Regions from separate parts of the Homo sapiens genome. Here regions 1 and 2 are each linked to region 3. Evidence: promoter capture Hi-C in 16 types of primary human blood cells and fetal thymus (Javierre and others, 2016). All regions are on one chromosome and are shown on one strand. Each heading gives the region's core, a stretch centred on a gene start or on the middle of the fragment in contact. The rest is flanking DNA. Distances are from core to core; before and after follow the strand shown.

What was found. The method cuts DNA at HindIII sites, captures the fragments that hold promoters and counts their contacts. A CHiCAGO score of 5 or more calls a contact.
Region 1: a contact is called between a fragment that was not itself captured here and the fragment with the promoter of KLF11 in region 3, in 1 of 17 cell types (monocytes). The highest score is 5.6, in monocytes.
Region 2: a contact is called between the fragment with the promoter of YWHAQ here and the fragment with the promoter of KLF11 in region 3, in 1 of 17 cell types (naive CD8 T cells). The highest score is 5.8, in naive CD8 T cells.

What each region holds. Positions count from the first base shown.
Region 1 is chr2:10,399,481-10,402,180 of GRCh38, reverse strand. All of the region lies in intron 2 of HPCAL1 (hippocalcin like 1), which reads right to left. Among named protein-coding and RNA genes, the nearest start is that of SNORA80B, 46 kb to the left of the region's middle. The HindIII fragment of the contact is 1,996 bases long and covers 293-2,288 here.
Region 2 is chr2:9,629,728-9,632,427 of GRCh38, reverse strand. YWHAQ (tyrosine 3-monooxygenase/tryptophan 5-monooxygenase activation protein theta) reads left to right here and starts at 1,431. Exons shown (of 6, transcript NM_006826.4): 1 at 1,431-1,487; 2 at 1,894-2,269. The coding sequence starts at 1,976. RefSeq lists silencers at 1,110-1,279, 1,330-1,429, 1,630-1,979 and enhancers at 2,100-2,199, 1,943-2,700. The HindIII fragment of the contact is 4,477 bases long and covers 1-2,630 here.
Region 3 is chr2:10,042,100-10,044,799 of GRCh38, reverse strand. It overlaps KLF11 (KLF transcription factor 11), which reads right to left and starts at 1,250. Exons shown (of 4, transcript NM_003597.5): 1 at 1,042-1,250. The coding sequence starts at 1,083. It overlaps KLF11-DT (KLF11 divergent transcript), which reads left to right and starts at 1,399. Exons shown (of 3, transcript NR_135558.1): 1 at 1,399-1,490; 2 at 1,796-2,167. RefSeq lists silencers at 557-626, 667-716, 837-886, 1,177-1,406 and a promoter at 1,093-1,992. The HindIII fragment of the contact is 6,616 bases long and covers 222-2,700 here.

The DNA of each region.
Region 1 (2,700 bases), core at 41-2,540, 360 kb before region 3:
TGCCTGCAATCCCAGCACTTTGGGAGGCCGAGGCGGGCAGATTACCTGAGGTCAGGAGTTCAAGACCAGCCTGGCCAAGATGGTGAAACCCCGTCTCTACTCAAAATACAAAAATTAGCCGGGCGTGGTGGTGCGCGCCTGTAATCCCAGCTACTCAGGAGGCTGAGGCAGAGAATCGCTTGAACCCAGGAGGCGGAGCTTGCAGTGAGCTGAGATCACACCACTGCACTCCAGCCTGGGAGACACAGCGAGACTGTCTCAAAAAACAAAAACAACAACAACAGCAAAAGCTTCAGTTCCTGCTCTGAGCCTGGCGCCGGGCTTGGGTGCTGGATGGCAGAGGGAGACAGCATTCCAACATGGACCAGCAGCCTCAAGCCTCCAGCTTCCCAGCTGGGCCCCAGTTCTCTCCTGACCCTTTTCCCAAGGACAGAGAGCTGGGTTCCATTTACCCAGGGTGTGGCTAGGAATAATCCCATAACCAATTATTAGCACAGCGCCTAGAACACAGGAAGCACACAGTAATTGTTTGACGAGAGGCAGGAAGGAAGTCAAGGAGGGAGAGAGAAGGTCCGGGTGATCTAGGCGCTCCTTACAGACAACTTCCAAATCCTCTGCAGATCCGGCCTTGGAATAGTGGATCTTCGGCCACCGCGGCACTGTCTGTGCACCCTCCGAGAGCCCCATCAGACACATTCTAGCCCAGATAGTCTCTAGCCTCAGCAAAAGAGCCAGTTTCCCGGAGACCCTCTGGGGGCCTAGGAACACCCAAAAGAACAGATATTTGCTAAACATCGTCTATGATCCCAGTGATTACTTCTAAGCTAAAAATTTGCACATGGGGTCTGAGAAGTCCAAGAATATTCTAGGGGGTAACTGAGAGAAAACGTGTAATCTGGGCTGTCCCAGAAATACCAGGCCCTGTGCCTGGTGTGGTGCTGGATGCCTGGGGAAGGGGAGCAAAGATCACTGTGGACTCCACCTAGAGAGGCCGGTGACATGGGTGGGGAGGAGCCTGGCTGGCTCGGACCTGGCCTGGAGACCCGGGGCCAGCAGGCAGCAAGGTCAGGGGAGTGTCCTTGTGCAGCCTCGGCTGTGGCTGCCTGTGTGGCTGAGCAGACTAAGGGGCAGGTCAGCCGCCCTTCCTTCCACCTCTGCCTGGCATCTCCCAACCAGATGGGGAGGCTAGGCCGGTCTTGCTCATGTGGGATCTGGATGCAGCCCTTCACACAGAGCCCGACATGGAGCAGATGCTCCGGAGATGCTGACGGCTAGGATTCCCCCGCCAGGCACCTGGCGGTCCTGCAGAAGGGCCAGGACAATGTCCCCAGCCCTCCACCAATTCCAGGGCAGATGAGAATGCCAAGTTGTGCCTGCCCACAATGTGTGTATGTGTGTGCGTGTGTGTATGTGTGCATGTGGGTGTGTACGTGTGTGCAGGCACGTGTCTGCCCACAATGCTTGTCAGACAGGATCTGCCCTCCGTGGCTGAGGGCTGGAGGGGACGACCACAGGAAGTGATACTGCCAAGTCATCCCAAGTCACCCTAAATATAACCCTCAATGTACAACACAGGAGGATTGTCCCTTCCCCGCTGCCCTGCCTCATGACCAGCGTCTGCCTAGGAGGGCACTTCCAGAAAGGCCGCTCAGATGGCTCTCTGAGATGCCCGCCTGGGATCCACGGCCTGGCCAGCACTAGAGGGGAGGCAAGCCTGGGGTCCTGCTCTTCCGGCCCCAAATCTCCATGGCCCTGTTCATCTAACTTCTTCCAGAAGAATTGTTGGCTACACAAATCACTATGAGCAACAATGATCTCTTAAGCCTGGGAGGAGGCATCCTTATTTAAGGGACACAGAGGGCTGCCGTATGGTGGGGGTCTGGCTGTGCCGAGATGCTGCTCGCACCTGTCTTCCTCAGCGGTCGGGGTTGCCAGCGTCCTGCCCCTCAGGTGTGACCCACTCCGACCTGGCTGAGCCGCCTGCTCGCCCCCTCCTTGCCACGGGTGCACGTCTGCCACAGGCCCTTTGCACCAGCTGCTCCTTAGCTAGAAGCACGCCCGTCCCTGACCTCCTGCAGGCCTTTGGTCAGGTCTCATCTCAGGAAGGCCTTCCCCAAGCACTCTATCCAAAACCGACACTCATTCTTTATCCCCTTTCCAGCTTGATCCTTTCTCTCATTTCTGTTTTGTTGAGTTCACTGTCTGTCTCCCCTTGAGTGGAGCTCAAGGTCCTTGGGGCCAGGTTTACTCTGGTCTGTTCTCCATCAGAAGCCCAGAGCCTGGAAGCTTGTCTGACACAGGGTACGTGCTCCATGAACCCACCTCAAGGGAAGGAACGCATGAGTGTCTGGGGACGTGGAGAGGGAGGCTGGTAGGGGAGGCTGGGACTCGAGCCTTAGTATGCAGGTGCTGCTTCTCCACTGCCCGGGGAGCGGCCTGCTGTACATGACCAAGGGCCAGGGGCAGAGAGAAGCGGAAGGCCCTTCCAGTGCCCATCACCTGACCCACAACATCCACGGCCAATGGTGTGAATGTGCTGGAAAGTGCCTTCTGATCCCAGAGTCCCTCAACTCGTGGTGGTGGTGGTGGCGGTGGCGGTGGCGGTGGTGGTGGCGGTGGCGGTAGTGGTGGCGGTGATGGTGGCGGTGGCAGTGGCGGTGGTGGCGGCGGTGGTGGTGATGGTGATGGTGGCGGTGATGG
Region 2 (2,700 bases), core at 182-2,681, 410 kb after region 3:
ACAAGTCAGGACAGGGAGGGGCAGTCAAGAGGGAGTCTGAATTTCTGGAAAGTCGGCACCTTCTCCTCCCATCTGTCTGCACTCTCAAATCTCCCATTCTAGAGATTCTCCGGATTTGCTCCAGTCTCCACTCAGAATGGGAAATTCTTTATGATCCATTCTCCTTAGACCTGCTGGAATCGGGATCATAGCAGCGTGAACCCAGAGGGCAATTCTCATCTTAAGATGGCACAGGGACCACGCGCCAGACGGGCAGGGCAGCCACCCTACCTGGATGGAGTTAGGGAACTGGGGAAGTGCAAGGAGAGACAGGAGTGGTTTAAGAGGAAAGGGAGCTGCCAGGGATGACCCTGAATGGGAGGGGCCTGGGGGAATCTTTCTCGCTTCAGCAGGGTGTTCCCCAGGAGGAGAAAATCAGAAATCAACATCCAGGGAGAGGATTTCAGCTTTTCAAGTGACCTCTCACAAATAATACCAGAAACAAAAGCGTGTGCACATGTGACAACGATGTGAAAAATGATGTATTTAGGTGCATAACCTGGAAAGCCTAAAAGATACATAAAAATTGCTTTTTTTTTGCGGGGAGAGATGTTATGGGCAGGGTTTTTTTTTGCGGGGGTGGGAAGGGGTAGTAATAGGTGTTTTCCTGCAAATTGTGCTTAATGTCATTTCTCATTTTAAAGAAAACCACAATACTTGGCATTGTCACAGAAACTCCCCTGGATCTTCTGGGACCTACCTTTTCACAAGGGAATTTTTTGTTTTAGGATGCCCATCTGAAAACTTGAATTTATCATGTAAATGCCATACTGAAGACACCGTCTCCAGAATCAATTCTTCTTTAATGGGGATGCGGTTTGCTTAATTCGGAGCCCTAATGGCAACGTCATTAAGGTCTGGGTTTAGTGTCTTGGGATCCAAACCTTTGTCACGGATAGAAAGGTGGAGGAAAGAAAGGCCCCCGTGCTCTAAAACAGCTGAATATGTCACCCTCCGAAGTCCAGCCTCGGCCAGAGCCCGTGAGATGCAATGCACCATCCGCAGCGGGAGACGCAGCCGCCGCCTAGGAGGTCGTGCGCGCCTCTGGGTCTCGTGCCGCACCCAGAAGTGCCGGGGTGGCGGGGAGGCTGAGGGGAGTTGGTAACGGCATCGCCATGGCAACAGTGACGTCCTTTTACCCTGGATCTAATTGGAGGAAACCCCGTGGCCGAAGCCGCAGCCTGCCGGCCAACCGAACTTCCCCGTACCGACCCACCCTCCTAGCCTCCGCGTTCCCTCCCGCTCCGCCCCCCTCGCCCCCTTCCGCGCGCTCGGTCCTCATTGGCCAGCGGCGCGCTGGGGGCGGGACTCTCGGGAGAAGCTCGGCGCATCATTGGGCGGTGGACCGCCCCTCGGCCCCGGGGTAGGCTGACACGGGAGGGTCCTCAGCTAAAGCCAAAAGCAGATCAAAGTGGTGGGACTCGCGTCGCGGCCGCGGAGACGTGAAGGTGAGCGCCTGGGTCGGCCCGCGGGCTTCCTCCGGCCGCGCTCGGATTGAGGGCCGGGCGGAGGTGCCGCCCTTGAGAGCAGCCGGTTGTCGATGCCGCTCCCCTCAGGGACGGCTCCGGGCGGGAAGGTGCGGGGCCAACGGTCGCTTCCATCTTGGGCCGGCCGGGCGGGGGTGGCGGGAGCGGCCGCGGCTCGGGCTCCCTGCGCGCGGGGCCTCCGCGCCGCCCCCGCCTCCTCCAGCCGCGGGCCGCGGCCTCCCCGGGTGCCCAGCGGGGGAGGGGGCGGGGGAGAGGGAAATTCAAGCGGCCGCGTGTGCGGGAGACAAAAGCGGGCGGCGGGCCGCATTGTCTGACGGCGCTCCCTCTCTGCTTTTTGTTCTCGCCTCGCCGCCCCGCCCCTCCGCAGCTCTCGAGGCTCCTCCCGCTGCGGGTCGGCGCTCGCCCTCGCTCTCCTCGCCCTCCGCCCCGGCCCCGGCCCCGCGCCCGCCATGGAGAAGACTGAGCTGATCCAGAAGGCCAAGCTGGCCGAGCAGGCCGAGCGCTACGACGACATGGCCACCTGCATGAAGGCAGTGACCGAGCAGGGCGCCGAGCTGTCCAACGAGGAGCGCAACCTGCTCTCCGTGGCCTACAAGAACGTGGTCGGGGGCCGCAGGTCCGCCTGGAGGGTCATCTCTAGCATCGAGCAGAAGACCGACACCTCCGACAAGAAGTTGCAGCTGATTAAGGACTATCGGGAGAAAGTGGAGTCCGAGCTGAGATCCATCTGCACCACGGTGCTGGTGAGTCCTCGGCGCGGGGAGCAGGGGAGGCCTTTTGTGAGATGCTTTTCATTGAGAGTTTCGCGGGCACGGAAACAAACGTGAGCCGGGGCTTGCCGGACTGTCTGCTGGGGTGGAGGGTTTTAGGTGAGCCCTGACTTCCCTACTGTGTCCCTCCGGTTGTTGAGACTCAAGAAGCCGCTTTTCCAAGGATAAGTCCTTTTTTTTCGCCCCAGATGCTGGGTAGCTACCAAACGATGGAACTTGGAAACATCCAAGTAGGTCTCTGCGAGACTGAAAGGCGTTTTTAAGTTTCTTGTGCGGGGAGACTGCGTCCTGAGATCTGTGAGCCCTTTAAATGTATTCAGTCGGTTCACAAGCTTCAGGCAGTTGAAAGAAGGCGCAGGCACCTTTTTGTTACAGACAATGTAGTAGGGATTTTTTCCCAAACC
Region 3 (2,700 bases), core at 1-2,500:
AGAAAACTAAGCCGGGGGCGAGAGGGTGATATTACTCTGAGAAGAGTAATACCCCTCCCTCCCAGGGAGGTTACAGTGGGCCGAGATCGCGCGCCCACTGCACTCCGGCCTGGGCGATAGAGCGAGACTCCCTATCAAAAAAAAAAAAAAGGAAAGGAAACTTTAAATGTACGAAGATACACGTTTCCTCTCTATCTGCCATGCACCAAAGCATCAAAGCTTTCCGTCTGCCGAGGTTCCCCGAGATCAAACAAGACGAGGCCACCTCAAATCCCCGGCCTCTGTCCCGCAGGCTGCGCCACTAAACCCCCTGTGATGTCACAGAACCGGGCGCCGAGGCCGACTCACCACACGGGCGGGAAGGGGCTCGCCCGGCCCACAGTGCCCGCACACCACGAGGCCCGCGCTCTGCCCACGTCCACGGCTACCTCCCCGAAGCCCCCAGGTCGCGACGCTTAGGGCCCCCAACGCTCGCGTGCCGCGTTCCCGCCTCCAAGCGTTGCCCCGCCTCCAAGGCAGTGCGGCGCTCCCGCCTCCCGTCGTTGCCCCGGCCCCTAGACCTTGCCCGCCCCCAGGCCCGAGCGGCACTACCGCTAGCCGCTCTTAACCCGCCCGACGGCCGCGTGCCCCGCCCCCAAAACCGTGCCGCGTTCCCGCCAGCAGCTCTTGCCCCGCCCCCAAGGCCGCGTGCCGCGTTCCCGCCAGCCGCTCCCCCGCCCAACGGCCGTCCGGCTCACAGGACCGGGGTGACGTCATGGCTGGAAATAGCCGCGGGGCCAGCGGGGCGGGGCCGCCCAGGAAGCGCAAGACAAAGCTGCGCGGGGAACACGCCCCCTCCTCGCCCCCGCCGACCCGGGCGCGCCCGTCGCGGCCGCCGCCCCGCCCGGCTCCGGAGCCCGCCCAGGCCCCTACCGGCGCGGCCGCAGCGAAGCCCTGCACGCCCCACCTCCCGCATTTACAGGCGCGCGAGTGCCGCACCACTTCCCCCGCCTCGCCCCTCGCTCAGACGAGTAGTCCCGCCGCGGCAGCCCCACCACTCACTGCGCGCGCGTCGTCTGGGCCTGCGAAGTCCGGCGTGTGCATCGTGCAGGCCGGCCGGGAGCAACAAAGCGGCCGCGGGGCGTGAGCTCGGGCGCAGCAGCGGCCGCACGTGGGCTGCGGGCGGCGGCGGCGGCGGCAACCCGGAGCTCCTGCGGCCGGCACGCGCCTCGCCCGCCCGCGCGGCTCTGCCCCGGCGCGGCCCTCGCGGCGCGGGAGGGGCGGGGCGGCCGCGGAGGGAGCGGCTGGCGGGGCGGGGCGCGGAGGCGAACCAAAATACACCGCGCCCCTGCCGGGGCGGGGCCGGCCACCACCAGCCAATTCGTGCCCGGCCGGCCAATGAGCGCCGCGGGGGGCCGCGTGATCGGAGCCTGGCCGCGGCGTGATCGGGCAGGGCGGGACGCGGCACGTGTTTTGGTCGGAGCGAGGGGCGGGGCCTGAGGCCCTGGAAAGTAAGGGAAAGGTCGCAGCGGCGCCAGGGGCAAGCGGGGCGGAGGGGGCGGCGGGGGCGGAGGGGGCGGCGGGGGCGGAGGGGGCGGCGGGGCGGCGGGGGCGGCGGGGCGGAGGGGGCGGGGCGGCGGCTGGGGAAATCCCAGGGCCGGGGCCGGACTCGGTGCGGGGAGAGGGGACCACGCTTATAGGAACCTCCTGCAGCCCCACCGGCTGAATCCATCGGTAGCGGAGACCCACCTAGAGGCCTCAACCTGGCTTTTGTTTGGTTGTTTTTAACTTCTGTCATTCTCCCTTCGTCTCTTAGGAATGCGTCCTTGACCGGAGAGGTCGGAAAGCTGGCCGGTTCTAGGTGACATTCCTGCATCCGGTCATTTTTGCAGACAGCGGGAGTCAGAGCTTATTGGCCTGAGTGTCCCGCTGACGCCCCTCCTCTGGCGTCTCTGGGCCTCTTCCGCTCTGTTACGGGGTCAGGGGAAGCCGAAACGGGCAGTCACCCAGAAGGCGCCCGCTGAAACCCGCCCATTCTTCCCAGGCCCCGAGAAAACGCCGCCCCCTCCGGGAAGTCCTCGAGCCTGCAGGAGACATCTAGCCCGCTGTCCAGGGCACCTTTTTTTTTCTCCCTATATTTCGGTTGCTCGCGTCTCTTGGTGTGGTTTGCCCACGTCTGCAGCGCCAGGTTCGTGGAGAGCAGGAACCATGCTGTTTATTTTCGTCGCCGCAGCCTTCAGCTCAGCGAGGAGCCACCCCTCCTCCGTCTGTTCACTGCGCGCGCCTTTGCTGAGCTGTGATGCGGGTTGGCGCTCAGTGCAAGGGGCAGAGGCCGCAGTGAGGAATCCTCCTTTTTTAAAAGCTCCATCCAGGGAGCGGGAGCAGAGAGAGAATCCCGGCACCCCGGGGCTTTGCTCTGAGCGAGAGAATTCTGGTCTTAGGGGAACGGGCTGGGCCCCACCACTCACATGAGCAGGACTCTGGTCCCCACTTGTTCCTTCGGGGCCCACTCGGGTTGGGCAGAGGGGTTGACCAGGCTGAGGAGAGGGTGTTTGCTGAAATAGTAAGAGGGTTTAAGACGAAAGAACCGTGATAAACTGCTCGCATGAAGACCCCGGAGGCTCTGAGAGGGGCGCAGGGTGTTCTGTGTGTAAAAAGTTAAGTCTTAAGATACACACTGGAATATTCTCTTTTGCCTGGACTCCTGCATTCGCCTTATAA